3 separate regions of the Homo sapiens genome follow, and all the other regions are linked to region 1. The links are contacts of gene promoters, found by promoter capture Hi-C in blood cells and fetal thymus (Javierre and others, 2016). All regions are on one chromosome and are shown on one strand. Each heading gives the region's core, a stretch centred on a gene start or on the middle of the fragment in contact. The rest is flanking DNA. Distances are from core to core; before and after follow the strand shown.

Region 1 (3,418 bases), core at 655-3,154:
TGCATTGTTCCTGTTTATGTCCATCGCCCTCAAAAATATAAACTGGGCCTCCTAGGCTCACTTTGTTTTCACCTTGAGGCATGTCTTACACATTATTTTTGTGTTCACACCCACAAATCCAATCCTAAAAGCACTGAAATTGGAAAGGATTACATTGCGTGCCGCATGGAGGCTGGTGCCTGTAATCCCAGGACTTTGTGGGGGGCTGAGGTGGGAAGATTGCCTGAAGTCAGGAGTTCTTTTTTGTTTTGTTTTGTTTGTTTTTAGACGGAGTCTCACTCTGTCGCCCAGGTTAGAGTGCAGTGGTGCTCACTGCAACCTCCGCCTCCCGGGTTCGAGCGATTCTCCTGCCTCAGCCTCCGGAGTAGCTAGGATTACAGGTGCCCACCATCATGCCTGGCTAATTTTTGTACTTTTAGTAGAGACAGGGTTTCACCATGTTGGCCAGGCTGGTCTCGAAGTCCTGGCCTCAGGTGATTTGCCCGCCTCGGCTTCCCAAAGTGCTGCAGCGCCTGGCCGAAGTCAGGAGTTCTTGACCAGCCTGGGCAACACAGTAGACCCCATCTCCTAAAGGAAAGGATTACCTTGTACATTATACAGCAAAAGTTCTTAAAATTGTTTTTAAAATGTATCTCTTCCTTTAAGTTTCCACTCCCTATGTAAGTTGCCTATCCCTCTTTCCCTCCTTTTTGGGCTAGTATCGTCTCCAGCTTGCTTCCAAGTCCGCTAGGGAATACACACGCGCGCACACACACATACACGTGTGTGTTTACGTACTAAAAATATATAAACATTAATAATGCAAGATGGGGCCGGGCGCTGTGTCTCACGCCTGTAATCCCAGCACTTTGGGAGGCCGAGGCGGGCGGATCACGAGGTCAGGAGTTCGAGACCAGCCTGGCCAACATGGTGAAACCCCGTCTCTACTAAAAATACAAAAATTAGTCGGGCGTGGTGGCAGGCGCCTGTAATCCCAGCTACTAGGGAGGCTGAGGCAGGAGAATTGCTTAAACCTGGGAGGCGGAGGTTGCAGTGAGCCGAGATCGCGCCACTGCACTCCAGCCTGGGCAACAAGAGCGAAACTCCGTCTCAAAAACAAACAAACAAACAAACAAACAAAAACCAAGATGGATTGTAAGAGGTATATATATACACATAGGACTCCATTTCTTGGGGGACCTGGAGGGGAGAAAGTCACACCCATACACACACGTACACGCATGTATACAAAAATGAATATATGCTCAGATATATACAATATATAAATGGGCAAATATAAAATCCCCTTTGTGCCAACGAATCCATTCATTCATTCATCAAATATTTGAGCGTCCACTTTGCCTAGAACCAAGTTATCTGTTGGGATGAGCAAGGCATAAGAGGTTCTAGCTCTCATAGAACTTAGAATTCTACTGGAGGAAGATGAGAACAAATACAAAATGTAAACAGTGGAAGTTCTGTAAAAACAACACAGAGCTTTGTGAGAGTGATGCTTAGAATGCTCCTGATGTTCCATTGGGTGTTCGAGCAGGGGGAATGGACTCGGAGGTGAACTATGAGCCGAGATTCATTTTATAAACGGGAACACAGACACATGGACACTTGAAGGGCCTTGGTGGCCAGAAAACTGAAGGCAGGTTCCCATCCGTCTTGGCACCACTCTCCCGAATAGCAGTTTCAGGGAACTGCACAAGCCAAAACCAGCCGGTCGCAGAGTCCAGGAGCGCCTGCGCAAGAGGACGCCTGCGCAAGAGGACGCCGTCAGCTTGGCGTCAGCGCGCCGGGCTCTGGCCCGCCCCCTGTGACACCAGCCCCGCCCCACCCCGCCCCGCATACCCGTGCGCTGCCGCGCATGCTCCGAGCCCCGCCCCCGTGCGTCACAGAATGGCCTCGGACACCCAGGCAGTCCCTGACGTGTCGGGGAGGAGCCGGGCGCGGAGGTACGCTGAGTGGAGCTCGGGGCTGCGTAGGGGAGCTGAGCCGAGCGGCTGGGCGGGCCTGGCCGGGCCGGCGGAGGGGAGACGTCGGTTGAGCGGCGGCGAACATGCGCTTTTGACACATTGGAGGTGAGCCTGCAGCGCGGGGCCGCTCCCTAAGGGGCTGCGCTGGGCCGGCGGCGCCGAGGCCTGCCCTTGGGGAGCCTTCCCGGCCCGGGGCCGTGTCTGAGGCTCCGCCGGGGCGGGCCGGGCCGGGTTCCGGGGCGGCCAGCCTGGGGGCAACTGTTCCAACCGCTCTAACTGTCCCCTCCCTTCCCTGGTCCGATGTGTGGCCCCCCAGGGGCGCCTGCAAGGGAACGATTCCGGTGGCCTCCGGAAGATGTGCCCCGTTCCGGGTAGGGTGAGGGCTGGCGGTGACGGAGGCCGGGACGTGGCACCGTGGGCTGGGGCGCTGGCGGCGCAAGGAGTGGCCCAGTCGGAGGTGGCAGCGGCGCGCCCAGCCCGCCTCCTCCTACCCCCTCTTCGAAATTCCTTCATTTGCGAGGGTGGCTTGGAGCGGGGTTGCATTTTGATCTCTCAGTGCCTCTCTCCCATGGGGGGCGAGAGCGCGAGCAGCCCACGTTGGGCTCGGATTGGCATTCTCCTGACTCCCGCCCGGAACTGCTAATCATCCTCCCCCTGGAGTTCGGCAAAGTGTCACCAACGGGCTCGGGTTACTTGTGCTCGACTCTTTTCTTGCTGTAAGCCATGAGATGACCCTTTAAGTTTTGCAAAGGAGGTGAGAGTTCTGTCACCACTGATTATTACCTTCTATTTACGTAGCACCTTTACACGTTTCAGAGCACTCTTCTTCCTATCTTTTTCTAACCGCATCACCTTGTGGTTGCAACTGATTATGTTATCGCCATTTCGATGGGTAAATGGAGCTGGGATGGGGGTAATTATTTATACTTAGGTTCAACCAACTGGTGAGTGGTTTAGCTTGGATCATAATTTACATTTCTAGGCTCGGAGTTCTGGTTTCTTTTCGTGGGATTTTTATACCCTTCTCAGCTACAAAACAAGGCAGAAAATGTGACTTGCCAAAGATATGCCAGAAGCTGGTAGATTACTTACTCAATTATTTTTGAGAAAACTCACCTAGGATAAAAACGGCTGCTCAGTCATGAGAAAAATCTTCCTGTGAAGCTTGTTCAGGAGTTGCTGGTTAATTGCTTTGCTAAATCGTGAAGTTGATGGGCACAGTGCAGCGTTAAGTCATGGGCTGAAGAGAAGTAAAGGGAAACCAAGTGAAGTATTTCTTCTGAATTATTATTAAAATTATTGTTATTTAAAATTAGAGTGCGTGAGAAACAAAACCTTTGGCCAGCCCTGGTTAGAGGTTGACTTGATCCAGATAGAAGTTGCTAAATCTTCTGAAGCTGTAGTTCTTTTGATTTTTTTAAATTAAATAAATTGAAGTTGGATAAAGAGCTTAAAAT
Region 2 (3,418 bases), core at 621-3,120, 570 kb after region 1:
TCGTGATCCACCCACCTCGGCCTCCCAAAGTGCTGGGATTACAGGCATGAGCCACTGCACCCGGCCCACAGTCGTATTTTTTGACTGGCTCCTTTCACTTAGCATAATGTTTTCAAGGTTCATCCACTTTGCAGCATGTATCAATTCTTTATTCTTCTTAATGGCTGAATAATATTCCATCGTATGGATATATTGCATTATATTTATCCAATCATTAGTTGATGGACATTTGGGTTGTTTCCAGTTTACGGCTATTGTGAATAATTCTGTTATGAACATTTGTGTATAAGTTTTTGTGTGGACATGTGTTTTCATTTCTTTTGGATGTATTCCTAGCATTGCAGTTGCTGGGTCATATGTAAATATGTAACTTTACATTTAACCTTTGAGGAACTGCCAGAGTATTTCCAATGGCTGCACCAGTCTACATTCTTACCAACGAGGTATAAGGGTTCCAATTTCTCTATATCCTCGCCAACACTTGTTATTATCTGTCTTTTTTATTACAGCCATCCTAATCATTGTGAATTGGTTTTTCATTGTGGCAGGGCTGTTGCTTTTTAATCATAGGCAAATAAACACCCAGCCTATTGAAGCTGGATGGTACCACAACAACCATGTGGTCCAATTTGTTCATTTTATAGGAGAAGCAACGAACGTGTTAAGAGAATAAGAAACTATCTCAAGGTCACACTTAGTAAAGGAGGCAGTAACAGAACCTATAGATTTTTTTTTCTTTTAAGAAAGAAAGGAAATTAAAGCCAGATGGCATAAAAAGAGAGATAGAGAAAGAGAGTCTTCTATAAAACCTAGGAGAAATTTCTTTAACCATAAAACCAGAAGATGCTGGGTGCAGCAGCTCATGCCTGTAATCCCAACATTTTGGTAGGCTGAGGCAGGAGGACCACTTGAGTCCAGGAGTTTGAGACCGCCTGGGCAACAAAGAAAGAATCAAGGCTGGGTGCGGTGGCTCACACCTGTAATCCCAGCACTTTGGGAGGCTGAGGCGGGCGGATCATGAGGTCAGGAGATCGAGACCATCCTGGCTAACACGGTGAAACCCCATCTCTACTAAAAAAAAAAAAAAAAATACAAAAAATTAGCTGGGCATGGTGGCAGGCGCCTGTAGTCCCACCTACTTGGGAGGCTGAGGCCGAAGAATGGCGTGAATCCAGGAAGGGGAGCTTGCAGTGAGCCAAGATAGCGCCACTGCACTCTAGCCTGGGCAACAGAGCGAGACTCCATCAAAAAAGAAAAGAAAGAATCAAAAAGATTTTTTGATTCTACAAAAAAATTGAAAAATTAGCCAGGCATGACAGTGGTCCCAGCTACACAGGAGGCGACGGTTCTCTATTTATTCCTTCAGTCATTTTAATGGTTATTGGGGGAGGTGTGTCAGTGGACCATCTTGGACCAAGGTTTGGATCCCTTGGGCCCAAGAGTTCAAGGCTTCAGTGAACTGCGATCGCACCACTGAGCTCCAGCCTGGGGACAGAGCAAGGCCCTGTCAAAAAAAAAAAAAAAAAAAAAAAAGCACAAGACAGACAATGAATCAATAACTAATAAAGGATAGTCATAAATAGTTAGTCATGGATCCTCTACTACGTCTTAGGTGCAGAACACGGTAAGTGCTTTACATTTGCTTCCCTGTTTAATGCTAGCAACATGCCTATTTTAGAGAGTTGAAGTGTAAATAAAGGATTATGACCCTAGACTCTTATATCTAACTACTGTCTGTGTATAAAGTAACAGACAATCTGAGACATGCGAAGACTCAAAAAATCCACCGTCCATCCACCCTTCCCCCAAGGTTTACTCAAAGTAGCATTTCAGTGGTGTGAGAAATTAATCAAAGTAAGGAACTCAGGAATGAGGAAGTCATTTACGTAAATGAAATGACAATAAACAATGTAGGCAGAAAAACTGAGTTAGAAGGCTGGGTGCAGTGGCTTACACCTGTATTCCCAACACTTTGAGAGGCCAAGATGGAAGGATCACTTGAGGCCAGAAGTTCCAAACCAGCCTGGGCAACTCATTGAGACCTTGTCTCTACAAAATAAAAAGTGTTTTAAAAATTAGCCGGGCGTGGTGGCATGCACCTGTGGTTTCAGCTACTCGGGAGACTGAGATGGGAGGATCTCTTGAGCCTGGGAGGTCAAGGCTGCAGTGAGCCATGATCCCGCCACTGTACTGCACTCCAGCCAGGATGACTGAGCAGGGCCCGGCGCCCCCACCGCCCCCCGCCCCCACACACACCTGCGCCACCACCGCCCCCCACCCCCACACACACCCACTACCAAAAAAAAGAGAAAAACTGAGTTAATTATGAACGTAGTTTGAAATCACAATGCCAATGTCAAAAAATGATTCTTCAAAGAGCAAGCATATGATGTAAAATTTTAATAATGGCCTGAAGCTAGGATCCTAGTTTATGCCGGCAAACCTGTGTCCTCCAGCAGCCTTAAGCTCGGCAGAGATTCCCAGGCGCCGGCCTCGCGGGTGAACTGTCACACGTACCCAGAGCTTGGAGGAGGCGCGCCGGGGGAGTGTTGTGCTGGGGATTCCCAGGCCGGCTCCTGCTTCTCGCCTGATGAATGTGGAGTTCCTTCAGCCATCCCTCGGATCCTCTTAAACTTTTCTAAGTTTCAGGAGTGTGAATGACGCATTCCCCTAGTGTTAAGTGGCGACAGTTCTCCCTCTATTTTATCTCTTCAGTCATTTTAATGGTCATTGGGGGAGGCGTGTCAGCAGACCATCTTGGATGAAGGGCAAAAAGACCAGTTAGCATGGAATTGAGGTTTGTCGCTGGTGATGGCAGTGGGGACATGATCGCACGTCCTTGGGTCAGACTTCTCAGCTCTCTCCTCCCCATTTTTACCCCCAGCACTCGGTCAAACAAACAGACAAACAAAAAGACCCCTGCAACTCCCAGACAAACCAAAGCTAGAGTGTGTAGGTTGGGTGGCTTTCTGTTGGATAGTTGTGTGTCCCAAGTTACACGCATCCTATCTTGGCCCAGCTCCACTGGAGCCCGAGCGGCGGGGCGCAGGGTGCGAGCGGGAGGCTGGTGTTCTGCCCGCGATGGGCAGGGGAGCCGGGTGGCCGCGGGGCGAGGAGCCGCGAGGGCCGGGCCGGCGTGACACCACCTGGCGGAGTCTCGGGGAAGAGTCTTAAAGGCGCGCGCTCCTCCGTGCCCCGCGCACTCGAACGGGAGCCGCGGAGAGCTCGCCTCCCGCTGCCGCCGGCGCCTCGGGGAGGTAAGTGCCACCCGCGGATCCCGAGTCGCGGCCGGGTGGGGGCGGCCCGCGGCTGCCCCGCGCTCGGGAAGCTCTGGCTGGGGCTGCGGTCGGAGGGCGGCGCCCAAGTTTTCTTGAAGGCCTCGGAGGGCAGCTGGAGCGGCGTAGAGCCTGCGCGGGGA
Region 3 (3,418 bases), core at 685-3,184, 520 kb after region 1:
GTGGTAAGAAGATTCCCTGCCGGGTGCGGTGGCTCATGCCTTTAATCCCAGCACTTCGGGAGGCCGAGGCGGGTAGATCACCTGAGGTCAGGAGTTCAAGACCAGCCTGGCCAACATGGTGAAACTCCTATGTCTACTAAAAGTACAAAAATTAGCCTGGTGTAGTGGCGGGCACCTGTAACTCCAGCTATTCAGGAGACTGAGGCAAGAGAATTGCTTGAACCCAGGAAGCGGAGGTTGCAGTGAACTAAGATTGTGCCACTGCACTCCAGTCTGGGCAACAGGAGCAAAACTCCGTCTCAAAAAAAAAAAAAAAAAAAAGATTCCCAAGCAGAGGGTTCTCAGCACCTGGAGTTTGCATCTGGAGTTTGCCAGAGGCTCAGGGGTCTGAAGCAGCCCAGAGGAGGACACCTGCCTTGTCCCACAGTGGATCACAAAGCCACTGGTGTCTGAAGCCCTTGCAGTTGTGCACAGAAGACCAGTGATATGTCTGGAGGGTCCTTGAGGGGAGGATGACCGAACCCCACAGAGGTCTCAGATGGGGAGCAGCCCAGCCTGCCCGATCATCAGTCATCCAAGGCTGAGGCCCGGGCCTCTTCCATGCTGGCTGCTCGACCAGGCAATCACTCATTCAGCAAGCACTGATTGAATGACAAGTGCTGGCCCCTGCAAGGCACTGGAGAGTCAGCACTGAACAAAATGATTGGAAAGCTTCCCTCATTGGGAAGGGGATGAGTGAGGCAAGAACACACGTTAGGTCTTGGGAAAACTGAGTCAGGCAGTCTGGCTGGAGGAGAGCGTGATGATTCGTGGAGAAAGGAGTGGGACTCAACTTCGAAACCTGAACAGAAGACTAAGGACTCTGGACTCTCCCTAAGCAGTGGGGTGCCATCAAAGTATCTGAACACAGTGACATAGAAGTTTTCATAAGAAGAATCTCCTGGTGAAGAGAGGAAGAGCCTGTGGTCCAAAAGGCCCACCAGAGGCATATGGTAAATAAAGCCAAATTGGGTAGGAGAGAGAACAATGGGGAAGTGAGAGAAACAAGAGCCATGGAGAAAGGAAGCACCATCAAAACGGGCTGGGGAGTGGGGAACAAGGAAGATGGAGGGAGGACTCGGAGATGAGTCCAAGGTTTCAAGGCTGGGAGTCTGGTTTCAGCAGAGACAGAAATGGGGAAGTCTGCACAGGAAGCCTGCTTTGTGGATGCAGAGTTGGGCTCTGGATATTGCTCAAGTTGAAATAGGGCATCAAGTGAAAATAACCCGCATGTACTTGGAGGCCGAAGCAGGTAGATCACTTGAGCCCAGGAGTTTGAGAACAGCCTGGGCAACATAGTGAGACCCTGTCTCTACAAAAAACACACACAAAAAATTAGCTGGGCGTGGTGGCATACACCTGTAGTCCCAGCTACTCAGGAGACTGAGGCAGGAGGATCATCTGAGCCTGGGGAGGTTGACACTACAGTGATCTGTGATCGTGCCACTGTACTCCAGTCTGGGTGACAGAGTGAGACCCTTTCTCAAAAATAAAAAATAAAACAAAAATTTGTCGGGCATCAGACTTTATGGAGACTTCAAAAAAAAAAAAGATGCAGGTTGGGAAGAGACTATTGGAACTTGCCATTCCAGAGCCACCAGTGACCTGAAAGGAAGCCTTCCAGCAGAAGCATGGGCTAGAGGGTGGGTTTCTGCCATTGAGGTCTGAAGAGGGACTCATAGTCACTGGGAGTCCTGTCATAAGGTGGCACCATGAGGGAAGGAGCAGGTCCCCTCTCTGCTCAGCCCATCAGAGCAGCTCCCACAAGAAAACTCTTGGAGAGCAGGCTTTGAAAACTCCCAGGTGGTCAGAATCATAGAGTCCAGTTGGTCCAGGAGGAAACAGACTCAGCAAGATGAGGAAGTAATTAGGGGCCAGGACTAGAGATTACATCTCCTATTCCCATCCTGTAGCCCGTACATCACATCACAGCCCCCTGTGTTCTCTTAAGCACAATAACAGGCCAAGGAGAGCGCAGAGCTTTTCGTTTTCTCAAAATGAAACTCTCAACATGGTACAGAAGTGAATGCACAGTGCAAAGACCTATGAAACATTGACGTGAAAACCCCAAGAACAAGAGGACATCAATTCCCAGCTCAACCTGGAGGTGAGATAGGTTGGCCCCAAGATCTTATCTGGGACACTCACGGAGGAAGGCAATTTTGAAATGGTGTTCAATTAGTTTATTTTACCAAGTATCAGAAGGAGCCAAGAACAAGAGACCTCAAGAAAAGCCCATGCTCCCAGCAGAGGATGTGGGCGAGGATCCCAGTATCCATGAATGGCTATGGTTTTCTCACAGCCAAGGTGCTTCTGCTGCGGAGAACGGGCTGTGAAGCAGGGCTGTGGGGTTTCTGAGCAAACTGCCCAGCTTTGGGACCTGTTTATTCAAGGTCACTGAACTACTCAAACTCAAATCATGTTCTCAGAACAACCAGCGTTTACACAACCAGTCAGACATGGCCACCATGATTTAGAGAACTACAGGCTCTTTAAAAATAAGCTATATTGGTCTCCTTTCTCACGGCTATCATTTCCATAATATATAACATGTATTTTCCCTGCATACTTCCCCAACGGGAAACTAGCCACCACGAAGCCTCCCATTCCACTGTTGACCTGCTCTGAATTTCTCTGAGATCTTCCTTCTAGTGAGCTGGAGTCTATTTTCTTACAATTTTCCTTCTGTCATCCCTTTTCCATTCCAGAGAATGACACCCAGTTGAGAAGTCTTCACCTTTTTCAAAGGACACTGCTCGTCAAACATCTGAAGACAGATACTACTTCTCCTCTGTCTTCTCTTCTTGGAGAAAAACCTCGCTACTTCTTAATTACTTCATATTCTGTCATCGCTATCCTGGTCACCTATCTCTGGATATGAAGTGGTTGCTCAGCATCCTCCAAATGCAGCACCTGGAATTCACTCAAGGTGGATATGCCCAGTTCAGTGTGGAAATAGGCATGCTTGTTAGCTGAAGGGCATATAAAGTAAGGACCCATGGGACCTAGTGGCTGAACATTGGAAGCCAAGAATCAAAGATGGCTCTCGGGCATGAGCCTGGGAGCTCTGAGGTTTACAGATTTGTACCTGGGAGGACTGAGGAAGAGAGAAGAGAAGGAAGCTTGGGGAGTGGGAAGCCAAGAATCCCACAGTGGAAGACCTCAAGACTGGAGCCGTTCTCCCAGCTTCCAAGGAGCAGCTCATTCCCCGCTCTATAAGCTGTCACAGGGCGTGGGAGAAGGTAACGTGCTTCCAAAATCATTTGCAAAGTCAGTATATCAAAAACTGACAACGGCAGCACAGAAAAGGAAAATAGAGGTCAAATTCATTTCATGCAAAAATCCTAAAGAAAGGTGGGATGCGGTGGCTCACTCCTAT

Evidence for each region. Contacts are between HindIII fragments. The CHiCAGO score rates a contact against its expected background, and 5 or more counts as called.
Region 2: a fragment that was not itself captured here is called in contact with the fragment with the promoter of NDEL1 in region 1 in 3 of 17 cell types (total CD8 T cells, total B cells and naive B cells); the score reaches 6.5 in total CD8 T cells.
Region 3: a contact is called between a fragment that was not itself captured here and the fragment with the promoter of NDEL1 in region 1, in 9 of 17 cell types (naive CD8 T cells, monocytes, naive CD4 T cells and 6 more). The highest score is 8.7, in naive CD8 T cells.

What each region holds. Positions count from the first base shown.
Region 1 is chr17:8,433,980-8,437,397 of GRCh38, forward strand. NDEL1 (nudE neurodevelopment protein 1 like 1) reads left to right here and starts at 1,905. Exons shown (of 9, transcript NM_030808.5): 1 at 1,905-2,066. RefSeq lists silencers at 1,709-1,878, 1,979-2,178, 2,219-2,458. The HindIII fragment of the contact is 3,991 bases long and covers 1-3,123 here.
Region 2 is chr17:8,999,888-9,003,305 of GRCh38, forward strand. It overlaps a transcript of NTN1 not described here. Among named protein-coding and RNA genes, the nearest start is that of NTN1, 20 kb to the right of the region's middle. RefSeq lists silencers at 3,121-3,230, 3,261-3,310. The HindIII fragment of the contact is 4,981 bases long and covers 1-3,418 here.
Region 3 is chr17:8,954,637-8,958,054 of GRCh38, forward strand. All of the region lies in intron 1 of PIK3R5 (phosphoinositide-3-kinase regulatory subunit 5), which reads right to left. Among named protein-coding and RNA genes, the nearest start is that of PIK3R5, 9.4 kb to the right of the region's middle. RefSeq lists enhancers at 46-547, 548-1,047. The HindIII fragment of the contact is 2,450 bases long and covers 710-3,159 here.